Regions from separate parts of the Homo sapiens genome. Here all the other regions are linked to region 1. The links are contacts of gene promoters, found by promoter capture Hi-C in blood cells and fetal thymus (Javierre and others, 2016). All regions are on one chromosome and are shown on one strand. Each heading gives the region's core, a stretch centred on a gene start or on the middle of the fragment in contact. The rest is flanking DNA. Distances are from core to core; before and after follow the strand shown.

What was found. Contacts are between HindIII fragments. The CHiCAGO score rates a contact against its expected background, and 5 or more counts as called.
Region 2: a contact is called between a fragment that was not itself captured here and the fragment with the promoter of MOGAT1 in region 1, in 10 of 17 cell types (M0 macrophages, total B cells, naive B cells and 7 more). The highest score is 8.2, in M0 macrophages.
Region 3: a contact is called between a fragment that was not itself captured here and the fragment with the promoter of MOGAT1 in region 1, in 1 of 17 cell types (neutrophils). The highest score is 6.9, in neutrophils.

What each region holds. Positions count from the first base shown.
Region 1 is chr2:222,669,477-222,673,827 of GRCh38, forward strand. MOGAT1 (monoacylglycerol O-acyltransferase 1) reads left to right here and starts at 2,182. Exons shown (of 6, transcript NM_058165.3): 1 at 2,182-2,403. The coding sequence starts at 2,310. It overlaps LOC124907985 (a long non-coding RNA gene), which reads left to right. Exons shown (of 2, transcript XR_007088095.1): 2 at 1,160-1,526. The HindIII fragment of the contact is 3,409 bases long and covers 1-3,368 here.
Region 2 is chr2:222,892,203-222,896,553 of GRCh38, forward strand. All of the region lies in intron 2 of ACSL3 (acyl-CoA synthetase long chain family member 3), which reads left to right. Among named protein-coding and RNA genes, the nearest start is that of ACSL3-AS1, 25 kb to the right of the region's middle. RefSeq lists a silencer at 3,066-3,266. The HindIII fragment of the contact is 1,091 bases long and covers 706-1,796 here.
Region 3 is chr2:222,845,881-222,850,231 of GRCh38, forward strand. No RefSeq gene overlaps it. Among named protein-coding and RNA genes, the nearest start is that of ACSL3, 13 kb to the right of the region's middle. The HindIII fragment of the contact is 5,305 bases long and covers 1-4,351 here.

The DNA.
Region 1 (4,351 bases), core at 932-3,431:
TCAAAGGCACAGAGACCTCATCTTAATTCACGTTTGTGTCATCAGTACCAAGGACAATGCCCAAGGCAATGCAGGCACTCCATAAATGTTTGTTCTATGTTTGGTTCAGTTGATGAAGGGATGACTCGCCTCTCCAGGTTTTATAGAAATTTGAATCTTCTCTATTCTGCCATTTACCAGCTGTGTGACTTTAAGCCCTAATTTCCTCAGCTGCAAAGTTGAAGTGAATGCGTACTTTGTAGGGTTTTTGAGATTACGCCTGTGAGGTCTCTGCAGAGTGCCTGACATAGGGTGTGTTCGTAGTGTCCCCACCTAGCACTGGGGGAAGATTCAAGGAAGAAATCTAAAAGGAAAGAAGAAAGTGACTCCTTAAGTAGGAGGAAAAAGAAACCCAAACAAGTTTTGCATACAAAAAATCACAAACAACTCCTCCAAGTGGCCCTGGTATTTGTTTTAATCCAACTCCCTTTGTATTAAAATGTTGAAGGAGAAAAGGGCATAGGATGGGGGAGAAAGGAGGGCCAACTATATTGTTTTGCCCTGTTCCAAGTCCTCTTCAGCAATGACTTGACAGCTGCTCATCATTTTGAGTTTTTCAACTATGTGGTAATTAATATTTATAAATAAAGTGCAGTGGTTGCTCCCAAGGACTAGGCACTATTTAGAATCTAGCCATCCATTTAGCACATCGTAATTGAAACCCTTCAGTGTCTTGTACTGCTCTTGGGGTTCAAACTTGAACCCTAACTCAGTCTGCAAGGGTCTGGACCTTGCCCACCATTTTTGCCTGATGTCACCCCAATCTCACCCTTGTCCCCCAAGCTCTCACTCTTTGAGCTCTTCTTGGAGTTCAGCCACAGGACCTTTGCATATGTGCTTCCCTTTGCCCGGATGACTCCTGGGTTAACTAGATTTGGCTACAGCTCAAGTAAGGGCACTTCTTCAGACACTTCCCTGACCGTGCAGCAGTCTTGGTTTTGGAATCTTCTAGTCATTCACAGTAGGGTCTTACTTGTAATTATACACCAAATTGTGTAGTTGTTTTGCTTATGTCTGTTTCCCCCTGTACTCTGAGAACAAGACAATGAATAGCTTGTGTCAGGCCTCTGAGCCAAAGCTCAGCCATTATAACCTCTGTGACCTGCATGTACACATCCAGGTGGCCTGCAGGAGCCAAGAAGCCTGGAGCAGCCAAAAAAAACGCAAAGAAGTAAAACAGCCAGTTCCTGCCTTAACTGATTAACCAACATTACAACATTTTACCATTGTGACTTGTCCCTGCCCTACCTTAGCCGATCAATCGACTTTGTGACATTCTTCTTCTGGACAATGAGTCTTATGATCTCCCCACCCTGTACCTTGTGACCCCTTCCTCTGCTAACAATAGATAACCACCTTCTACTGTAATTTTCCATTACCTAGACAACTCCTATAAAGCAACCCCTTCCCCATCTCCCTTCGCTGACTCTTTTTCGGACTCAGCTGACTTGCACCTAAGTGAATAAACAGCCTTGTTGCTCACACAATGCCTGTTGGTGGTCTCTTCACACGGATGCGCTTGACAGCTTGGTTATCCAAGCGCCCGGATGGTGCTCAGCAAGTGGCAAGTGCTCAATAAATGTGGGTTGAATGAATGAATGGGTGAAAGATTCCCGGAGCTCCTGTAGGGAACTGAGGACCCAAGAGTGAGGAAGCCAGGTCCCCTTCCCCATCCGCGGGGAAATTGGAGGTTGCGGGGGGACACAGATCAATAAACTAAGAAACAAGTCTCGCTCATCTCTCCAGCTGGTGTGCGATTCCTCAAACTAACCCTTCCCCAATCACCGAGGGTTCGAATGAAGGGGTGGGATGCTGAAGGCAAGCGCTGGGTGATCGATCAGCTGAACAATGGTCAGATCCTGGTGGAGATCCCAGGTCCTCAGCCAGGCGGCAGGAGCCCGCGCTGCCCGGCTCGGGCTGGCTGCCAGTTGACCCCTCTCCCCGTCCCTCGTGTCCCACGCGGCGCACTCTCGCCAACGCCCGGCGCGCCAGCCAATGCGCCCGGGCCGCTGTAGCTGCTCCGGGGCCAGGGCGCTGGGCCAGCTCTGGCGCCCGGCGCTTGTGATTGGCTGCCCCCAGCCTCAGCCCAGCGCGCCCTCCCACCCAGGGCGCAGTTGGGTCCCCGCTCGCTGCCTAGCCTCTGCCTTTTCCTCTCCGCCCAGCCAGTGCCCAGCGCGGGGCCCGGATCCGGCCGGGCACTTCCCACAGGCGCCGCAGAGCAGCGTGGGTGCAGGCTGCAGTGGCTGGCGCCGTCCTCGCCCGGCCAGGCCATGAAGGTAGAGTTTGCACCGCTCAACATCCAGCTGGCGCGGCGGCTGCAGACGGTGGCCGTGCTGCAGTGGGTCCTGAAATACCTGCTGCTCGGTAAGGACCCCGCCCCCCGGGCCGCGGGGCTTGGGCTCCATATCCTCCCTCGGGACGGTCCGGATTCCAGGACCTGCATAGAACCTTCCAACCCTCGTTCCCCTGTCGGCCAGAGCAGGCAGGTCAAAGAGGGCATTTGGAGCTAACGTGGACTCTGGTTTCCTCACGAGAACCTCATCGCTAACGACTGTTTAATTTTATTTTCTCCTGCGTTACTTTTTTAAATTGAGGTGCACCTTGCCTACAATAAAAGGCGCAGTTATACGGATACAGCTCGATGACTTTTGGCGACTGTATCTACCAAAATGTAACCATGACCCCATCGAACGCATGAGCACTTTAACCCCTCAAAAGTTGGCAAACTCGTTTCTCGAACTGTTGATTCATAGATGGCAAAGTAATGCCTCAGTAGTTAAAACCTTGTTCCTTCTCCCTCTTTGTCTCCCCACCCTCCTGACAAAGAGCAGTGTTCCCTTTCCCGTTTTGGAGATTTCCTGGATGCATAGCAGTACCTTTCTGTAAAGAAGGCTGCACCACTCATTGCATTTGGTTGAGCGGTTTCTCTCTGGAAATAGTTTGACTCAGTAGCGTGTGTGTTCCAGTTGGTTCCCAAGTTGAGCCCATGAAACATACACGAGCCGAATCATTAGATGGGGCAAAAACGTGGGTGGTTTTTCTTTTTGTTTTTTGTTTTTTCCTTCATATTTGTTCTGCTCTTGAAGTAAATAGGGGTGATGTGGGAGGAGGGAGGAATTTGGGGGAGACCCTTCTATTGAAACATAAACTCTTCTGAAGACTAAGATCATGTGTATGCTGTAAGATCATGGATTGTACAGCGTTGGGGTGGTAATAATAGTAATAAGCCCATTGCATTGGAGAGTTTTACACTTTTAAAACTGCTTTTACATTTCGAAAGCCTGAATCAGTGGTTCTCAACCCTGGCTCTAGATGAGAATCACTGGAGAAGCTTCTAAAAAGTGCAGATGCCCAGGCTCCATCCTGGAATTTGTTTATTATTATTATTATTATTATTATTATTATTATTATCTTTGAGACGGAGTTTCACTCTTGTTGCCCACGCTGGAGTGCAGTGGCGCCATCTCGGCTCACCACAACCTCCGCCTCCCGGGTTCAAGTAATTCTTCTGCCTCAGCCTGCCGAGTAGCTGGGGTTACAGGCATGTGCCACCACATCTGGCTAATTTTGTCTTTTTAGTAGAGACGGGGTTTCTCCATGTTGGTCAGGGTGGTCTCGAACTCCCAATCTCAGGTGATCCGCCTGTCTCAGCCTCCCAAAGTGCTGGGATTACAGGCGTGAGCCACCGCGCCCGGCTCATCCCTGGAATTTCTAAGTCATTTGTTTCAGAATGAAGTCTGTACACCTTTTTTTTTTTCCTTTTTCCTCTTAAGAACTCTCCGAGTGACTCTCCTGTGCTGCTAGGTAGAATTTACCAAAAAAAAAAAAAAATGTAATTCAAAGTGTTAACTCATTAAGTCCTCACAGACTACACCGTGAGGCAGGGTTGCTCTGGATCAAAGCACCATGGAGATAACAACACACGACCTTATCTAGCGCTTGGTATGTGCCAGGTGCTGTTCTAAGCAACATCCACGATTAACTAGCAATCTTCACAACATCCCTGTGAGGTAAGGACTATTCCTACACTCCTGGTACAGATGAGGGAACTAAGAGATGAAGTAAATTGCTCAAGGCGATGCAGCTAGCAGGACGTGGTAGAGCTGGTTTCAAACCCAAGTATTCTGCCCAAAGTGTCTGCTTTAACCACTAAACTGCTCTCTTAAATGGCCTGAACTTGGAGTCCGACTTCCTAACCGATCATTCAACACATCTCTGATAGCCACTGTTCTTTTCTTTCATGGCACTTATCATTGCTTGTATCTGTGTATGGCTGTGGTGACTTCAGAAAGTTCTCTATGGCTGTCTTAGT
Region 2 (4,351 bases), core at 1-2,500, 220 kb after region 1:
ATAAGTTAGTCTGTGTGTTGTTGATATTTGTAAGAATTTAAAACAACTGTCCTACTTTTAGGTCTGCTTTTTTTCGGGAGGGAGGCAGCAGGATATATAGTAAGTAAATGTTTTAAAACCATTCTCTTGAACTAGGTATCTAGGTATGTATTTTTATTATGTGTTTAGCTTTGGATGCCTGAGAAGCAAACATGTTTGTGAGAACCAGGGTGCCCCTCTAAAAAAGAAACTCTTTCCCGATAGTAAATAATAGTCTCTGGTTGCACTTTCCATTATAACTCTGAGAGATTAATTCTGGGTAGGAAATAGTTCTTTCTGCCCTTCTTGACCCTGGTTTCCTATTTCATAATACATGATTTGCGTCATTCATCTGGGACTCTTAAGTCTCTGTAGAGTGTGTATGACTGTCACCTAACTTTTGTGGAAAGGAGACTCTCAAAAGTAGTGTATTAAAGGATACTTTTTTCTCCCCAACAATAAGGTATTAACTATAGAATTTATTAAGAGAGTATAGGGTCATTAAAAAGTTTGGACATGCCTTGGAGAGACATGTAGGTTAATATCCTACCTTACCTGCTAGCTGTAAGTGCCTTTGGGGACAATCTATTTGAAATTGGGTTTTGTGAGAATTAAATGAGATAACATAAAAAGTTCCCTTCACTGTGCTTGTTTGCCTGCACTCAGAATTGTTTCCCATTTATTGCAAGCTTGGTGAAAAATTCCAGCCACATTTCATACTAGCAAATACGGATTCCTTGATATCCAGCATTGTGCAAGCCACTCATTTATACTTCATTAGAGATAAAATGCTAAGCCATATTATTATTATTGTTATTTGCAGATATGAACAGTTGTATAGTATTGGTGCCTGAGTGTGGTAGGCTGAAAGAAAAATACAGAGGAGGAAATCAGATTGAGTGGTGGGCAGGATTAACTGAGAAGTAAATTGTGGCATATCAAGATGCACCGTCTGCAGTATTTTCTCCTTTTCTGTCCTCTCTTCCCCCTGTCCTCATCCTCTGCTGCCTTTGACTTTGTGGGAGCATTTCTAAGTGTTGGGGCTCTCTGCCTGCTCTGCAAGTTGAGTTTTCAGATTCCTTTTCATGATGGTGGTGGATGTGAGGGGCATAAAATGTCTGCTTGCTCTGTCAGTAGGGTGTGAATATAATACCATTGTTGACTTCTTCCCTCCTTAGACAGTGTACATGTCTTAGATTCTGAGAGTGACTCCTGTTTTCTTTGTTCAGTCCATGAGTTTTGTGGAGGTTAATTTCACAGGTCTGCCAATTTTGGGTTGAGTTACCATGTTGTATCTCTCTTGCGCCTAAGAGATTCTTGAAACCCCAGATCTAAGCAGGTAGAACCATTTGATACGTTAGTCTGAAAGTGATCCCTGTGGCAACCTACTTTTTTCCTGTTTTTCTCTTAGGAAAACACGTCATCTCTGATAGAAGATTTTCTTCCTTCTCTTTTCTTTTCTCTTTTTCTTCCTTCTCTCTTCTCTTCTTTTCTCTCCTCTCCCTTCCCCCGCTTTCCGCCTCCTTTCCCTCTCCTTCCCTTCCCACCTCTCCCCATCCCTCCTCTGCCTCTTCTCACCTCACAGGGTTGTTTTTTCTCACAGGGTTTCTTTCTTTCTGACTTTGTCTTTTCACAAAGTCTTGCTCTGTTGCTCAGGCTGGAGTGCTTTGGTGTGATCACAGCACACCACAACCTCAACCTCTGGGCTGGAGAGATCCTCCCACCTCAGCCTCCATTGTAGCTGGGACTACAGTCATGAGCCACCGCTCCCGGCAAGAAGCTTTCATATGAGCATTTGTAGCAATTTTTGTTTTGAAAAATTGGGAGTTGTTACAGGGCATTTGACTATGATATTAATAATATTATTTAATAGCAATTTTTAACATAAAATTTTATTTTAACATCCACTTCATACCTTTTGGAAGTATATCATTTGAAAGTGATTTCCTGGCTGATGGTTAAGCTCCGTTACTTTACTTACATTTGTTTCATAACACAAGATCTGAATAACACAAAATCCTGTCTGGTCTCCTTTTCCTTCAGTCTTTCCAAGTCACCTGTGTTCTTCCTCTCAAATAATAGAGGTCATACAGAGAAGAGATCTTCCTTGTGCTTGATCATTCTGATTTAAAACAATTGCTAATTAAAATATAAGATGTAAATAACTCTTTGATCTAATGCAACTGACCATTGGCATAGAACATTTTAAAAAACACATTTCAAGTGTTTGAACCTAGCTATTTATCACACAATTTTATATTTCAAGATTTTGTTTGCTCATCTTTATTGTATAAGTAGTAATAGGTCATTTTCTTTTAATGCTGTTAAACTTAATTCATCTTGTTATTTTAATTAGCAGTTGTGAGAGTTTAGTGAAGTTGGGAGTTGTTAAATTCTTCATGGTGAAAGATTAATGGACTTAGACCTGCATTTAAATATTCAGGGATAATTTCTTAAAAACCTTGACTTGCCTATATCTTTTTCTGTAGTCAGGCATGAAGCCAGGCATGCCCGTGTATACATTCTTCTCAGTTGGCAAGGTATCATAGAAGTTCTTCTAGGTCAATGCATGTACATGTAGCTTACTTTTAATGGCTGCATAATAGTCTGTTCAATGGGTATATATGTTTTTCAGGCATTCTTTGATTAATGAATCTTTAGATCATTTTCTATTTTTGGTTTTTTGCCACTGAAACAGTACTGCCATGTCTCCCAGGTGTGTGTGTGTGTCTTTCCAAGTTTTATCTTCAGACTATGTTACTACTAGTTGCAGTTAACTACTCATCCCCAAATCTGTAAATATGTCTTCCTGTGACCCTGACACTACTCTGTCGTGATTCTTAGTGATTTCAATATCGTTCTAACACTGTGGTCTTATTATTTCATACTCCAGCCTGCCTTTGCTATTCCTTTTCCATGACCATTCATTCTGCCACTCTCCTAGATGACTATTTTATACTTTCTCCTTAATTTTCTAATACCTTCCTTTCTGCCTCCCTCACATCCAATGATTTTGCTTATTACTCTGAGAAAATAGAAGCACCCAGAAGAAAATCTTCTGCAAGCTCCTATTCCTGCACATCTGTGTCCCTGTTTCTCCCACCCTCTCTCCTCCTCCAGAGGTGTGGCTCTCTTCTGCATAATACTTTCCTCTGCTGGTTCATAGCTATCAGTCTGCAGACAAGCTCTACTATTTATGTTAAAAACAAAAGAACCTCTTTTGTCCTGGCCTGTTACCATTACTTTGTTCTTTTTTTTTTTTTTTTTTTTTTTTTTTTATTGATCATTCTTGGGTGTTTCTCGCAGAAGGGGATTTGGCAGGGTCATAGGACAATAGTGGAGGGAAGGTCAGCAGATAAACAAGTGAACAAAGGTCTCTGGTTTTCCTAGGCAGAGGACCCTGCGGCCTTCCGCAGTGTTTGTGTCCCTGGGTACTTAAGATTAGGGAGTGGTGCTGACTCTTAAGGAGCATGCTGCCTTCAAGCATCTGTTTAACAAAGCACATCTTGCACCGCCCTTAATCCATTTAACCCTGAGTGGACACAGCACATGTTTCAGAGAGCACAGGGTTGGGGATAAGGTCACAGATCAACAGGATCCCAAGGCAGAAGAATTTTTCTTAGTACAGAACAAAATGAAAAGTCTCCCATGTCTACTTCTATCCACACAGACCCGGCAACCATCCGATTTCTCAATTTTTTCCCCACCCTTCCCGCCTTTCTATTCCACAAAACCGCCATTGTCATCATGGCCCATCCCCAATGAGCCGCTGGGCACACCTCCCAGACGGGGTCGTGGCCGGGCAGAGGGGCTCCTCACTTCCCAGTAGGGGCGGCCGGGCAGAAGCGCCCCTCACCTCCCGGATGGGGCGGCTGGCCGGGCGGGGGGCTGACCCCCCCACCTCCCTCCCGGACGGGGCGGCTGGCCGGGCGGGTGCTGACCCCTCCACCTCCCTCCCGGACGGGGCGGCTGGCCGACCCCCCCCCCCGCCGCCTCCCTCCCGGACGGGGCGGCTGGCCGGGCAGAGGGGCTCCTCACTTCCCAGTAGGGGCGGCCGGGCAGAGGCGCCCCTCACCTCCCGGACGGGGCGGCTGGCCAGGCGGGGGGCTGATCCCCCCACCTCCCTCCCGGACGGGGCGGCTGGCCGGGCGGGGGGCTGACCCCCCCACCTCCCTCCCGGACGGGGCGGCTGGCCGGGCAGGGGGCTGACTCCCCCTCCCCCCTCCCGGACGGGGCGGCTGGCCGGGCGGGGGGCTGACCCCCCCCACCTCCCTCCCGGACGGGGCGGCTGGCCGGGCGAGGGGCTGACCCCCCACCTCCCTCCCGGACTGGG
Region 3 (4,351 bases), core at 972-3,471, 180 kb after region 1:
AATATATTACTAAAATTAATATCACTTGTTTTCTTTTCTGTCTTTTTCTTTTTTTTTTTTTTTAGAGGCGGGGGTCTCCCTATGTTGCCGAGGCTGGTCTTGAACTCCTGGGCTCAAGCAATCCACCTACTTTGGCCTCCCAAAGTGCTCAGATTGCAGCATCATGCCCAACCCTTTTTACTTGTTAATGTGCTGTCAGAACATTTTAAATTACATACTTATCTCCTATTCCGTCTCCAGTGAATGGTGCAGGTCTACAGCAGTTGGCTAGCGATTCTCAAACTTTCTTGTGTCTCTAAATCAACCCGAAAATCTTGTGAAAATGCAGATCTGGGTCACATAGGCCTGGGTGGGGCCTGAGATTCTGCAGTTTTAATATGCTTCCAGATGATGCTGATGCTAATTCTGCTGTTCCATGCAGCACACTTTGACTACCAAGGAACTAGAAGATTTATGAAGATTAAACGTGGATTGAAATATGTGATTAAGGGCTAGGCATGGTGGCTCACCCCTGTAATCCCACCACTTTGGGAGGTTGAGGCACGTGGATCACTTGAAGCCAGGAGTTTGAGACGAGCCTGGCCAACATGGCAAAACCCCATCTCTACTAAAAATGCAAAAATTAGCTGCCCATGGTGGTGCATGCCTGTAATCCCAGCTACTTGGGAGGCTGAGGCACAGGGAGAATTGCTTGAACCTGGGAGGCAGAGGTTGCAGTGAGCCGAGATGGTACCACTGTACTCTAGCTTGGGTGATAGAGTGAGACCCTGTATCAAAACAAACAAACAAACAAACAGAAAACTATCCCTCTGAAATATTAATAAGAAAAAACATATAGGAATAAACTCATTGTAGAAAGAATAACAAACTGAAAATATCGCAGAAGAAATCACTGAAGTATATGTAGCATGAGGATAGTTTTTCAGTTAAACTTTTAAGAAACAGTTTGATGTCTTGTGAGATATTTAAATGTTTAGCCAACATTGGTGTATGTACCCCTCTGAACATGTGCGTGTATGCACAGTTTTCATAGTTGAATTCAACAACTGTGTATTGGGAGAGACATTGTACCAATCACCACATTGGATGGATCTTAGGGATAAAGAAATGAAAGTGATGTGCTCCTTGTTCTCAAACAGCTTATCATTGTGTTACAGAAGGAAATAAACACAACGGACAGTAATACAGCACAAGAAGTACTAAGCTCAGGGTGGTGCCATCTGATATTTTGTTCCACTTCACCTTTCTACTGATAACTGTATTTTTCCTGTGGCGAATTCACACCTGCCTCCCCAGCTACATTCCCTCTCTGTTTTGGGGTGTGCATGGCTGAACTCCACCCTCCCTAGAATCCAGTGGTGGAGCAAGTGAGTTAGGCTGAGACAGACAGAAAGATTGAGTGACGGCCGGGCGTGGTGGCTTATGCCTGTAATCCCAGCACTTTGGGAGGCCAAGGCAGGTGGATCACGAGGTCAGGAGATCGAGACCATCTTGGCCAACATGGTGAAATCCTGTCTCTAGTAAAATAAAATAAAAAAAATAGCTGGCCATGGTGGTGCGTGTCTATAGTCCCAGCTACTTGGGAGGCTGAGGTAGGGGAATCGCTTGAACCTGGGAAGGGGAGGTTGCAGTGAGCTGAGATTGTGCCACTGCACTCCAGCCTGGTGACAAAGTGAGACTCCATCTCAAAGAGAAAAAAAAAAAAAAAAAAAGATTGAGTGAGGAGGGACACATAATCTCTCAAAAGAAATAAGATTTCTGGGAAGAGACTCTGAATTTCCAGTGAGATAGGAGTCTGAAGGGGCTTCTAGCCATCTTTCTGACATGGGGACCTCAGGCTGGAGCAAACACCAACACCAAGGAAACCGATCTGTGGAACAGACAGACAAAGCTGTTCTTTCTGATTCTTTTTTTTTTTTTGAGACAGAGTTTTGCCCTTGTTGCCCAAGCTGGAATACAATGGCACAATCTTGGCTCACTGCAACCTCTGCCTCCTGGGTTCAAGTGATTCTCCTGCCTCAGCCTCCCGAGTAGCTGGTTTCATGCGCGTCCGTGTGAAAAGACCACCCAACAGGCTTTGTGTGAGCAACATGGCTGTTTATTTCACCTGGGTGCAGGCGGGCTGAGTCCGAAAAGAGAGTCAGCAAAGGCTGGTGGATTATCATCAGTTCTTACAGGTTTTGGGATAGGCGGTGAAGTTAAGAGCAATGTTTTGCGGGCAGGGCTGGATCTCACAAAGTACATGCTCAAGGGTGGGGAGAATTACAAAGAACCTTCTTAAGGGTGAAGGAGATTACAAAGTACCTTCTTAAGGGTGGGGGAGTTTACAGAGTACATTGATCAGTTAGGGTGGGGCAGGAACAAATCACAATTGTGGAATGTCATCAGGTAAGGCTATTTTTACTTCTTTTGTGGATCTTCAGTTACTTCAGGCCATCTGGATGTATATGTGCAAGTCACAGGGGATGCGATGGCTTGGCTTGGGCTCAGAGGCCTGACAGCTGGGATTACAGGAATGCGCCACCACGCCCGGCTAATTTTTTGTATTCTTATTAGAAACGGGGTTTCACCATGTTAGCCATGGCTGGTCTCGAACTCCTGACCTCAAGTGATCCACCCACCTCAGCCTCCCAAAGTGCTGGGATTACAGGCATGAGCCACCGTGCCCGGTCTGTCTTTCTGATATTTTTGAGCCCAGTCTCGAGTGTTCCCTGAAGGCAGATATACTCCAGGGCTGTTTAATTTTGTAAGCCAATAAATTCCATTTGCTCAAGCAAGTCTAATTTACATTTTCTGTTCCTTGTAACCTAAGGAGACCTAACTGATAACATGTTACCTAAACAACAGATAACTGATAACATAGCTAATAACTGAGAACATGATACCTAACCAATAGATAACTGATAACATAGCTAATAACTGAGAACACAATACCTAACCAATAGCATAAACAAAACAGAGAGAATGGGAGGAGTAATTTTGCATGGGAGCCTCACAGACCGCTTGATATTTGAGTTCAATGCCTAATGGACCTGTAGATGATGAGACTGTATTCCTTGTTACATTTATGGATTCTGCAAATAGGGCAGGATTCCTAAAAATGTCAGGCCCGGTCCACAGGATACAACAATATGTTCCTAATCTCTGGCAGAGGCTCTCGAAAGCTGGAGGAATCTTGTTCGCACTATAAATATCAGCCACTTCCTCATTGGAGCTTAAATGTCACCTCTCTGATTTGCCTTCACTGACCTCCCCACCCAAAATTGTCTCTATTTCTTTTTCCCGAGTCATCTGTTTAAATGTCTGAAGAGCACTTTGATTCTGTAATTGTCTTTTAAAATAATATTGTTTGCCGGGCGCGGTGGCTCACGCCTGTAATCCCAGCACTTTGGGAGGCCGAGGTGGGTGGATCACGAGGTCAGGAGATCGAGACCGTCTTGGCTAACACGGTGAAACCCCATCTATACTAAAAATAAAAAAATCAGCCGGGAGTGGTGGCGGGAGCTTGCAGTCCCAGCTACTCAGGAGGCTGAGGCAGGAGAATGGCGTGAACCCGGGAGGCGGAGCTTGCAGTGAGCCGAGATCACGCCACTGCACTCCAGGCTCCGCGACAGTGCGAGACTCTGTCTCAAAAAATAATAATAATGTTTACTATTTTTATTTATTTATCATAATGATTTTATCTTAGAATATAAAATCCTTAAGGGTCAGAATCTCTTCAGTTTCCGTAAGTGCTATATCTGCAGTGTCTAGCATTCTTGTCTGGTGGCACTTACATTTTGTTGAATTGATGTTCAATTAATTAGGACATTGAATCCAGGCTTGACTTCCAAATATTTTCATTGATAGAGAGAAGCCACAGCAGTTCTAGAGAAAAGAGAAGTAAGTTCACTAAGGAACTTCAAATGAAATTAATATGAATGATTTTGGAGAACACTCAGGAACCATTTATGTATTTCACAATTATATAAAGGCTCTTTATTAGAAAAATGTAAAAAAAAAAAAAAAAAGCAACTGCTCTGTATTGTCACAAACTTCTAAATCAAAAGGAGAAACAAAGAAGAGGACTTTCACTGGCCCTAAAGAAGAACTTGAACTATCTTCAGGTTCTGGGAAGTAGTATTTTCAGCGCCCAACATATTGTGCCTTTCTTCAGCTACCCTACCTTTATCAAGAGGGCAGAGACTGTTGGTTGCTTACCCGGTAACTCTTCTCCCCTTCATGGTTAGTAACAGAACCCTGATTTTATTTCAGATGCCATTGTGTGCTTCTAAGAGATTGTATGTTCCGGCTTCGTTAGTATGTGGTGATATTCTGATCAATGTGATGTAAGATGAGGTGTTGTGTTGAA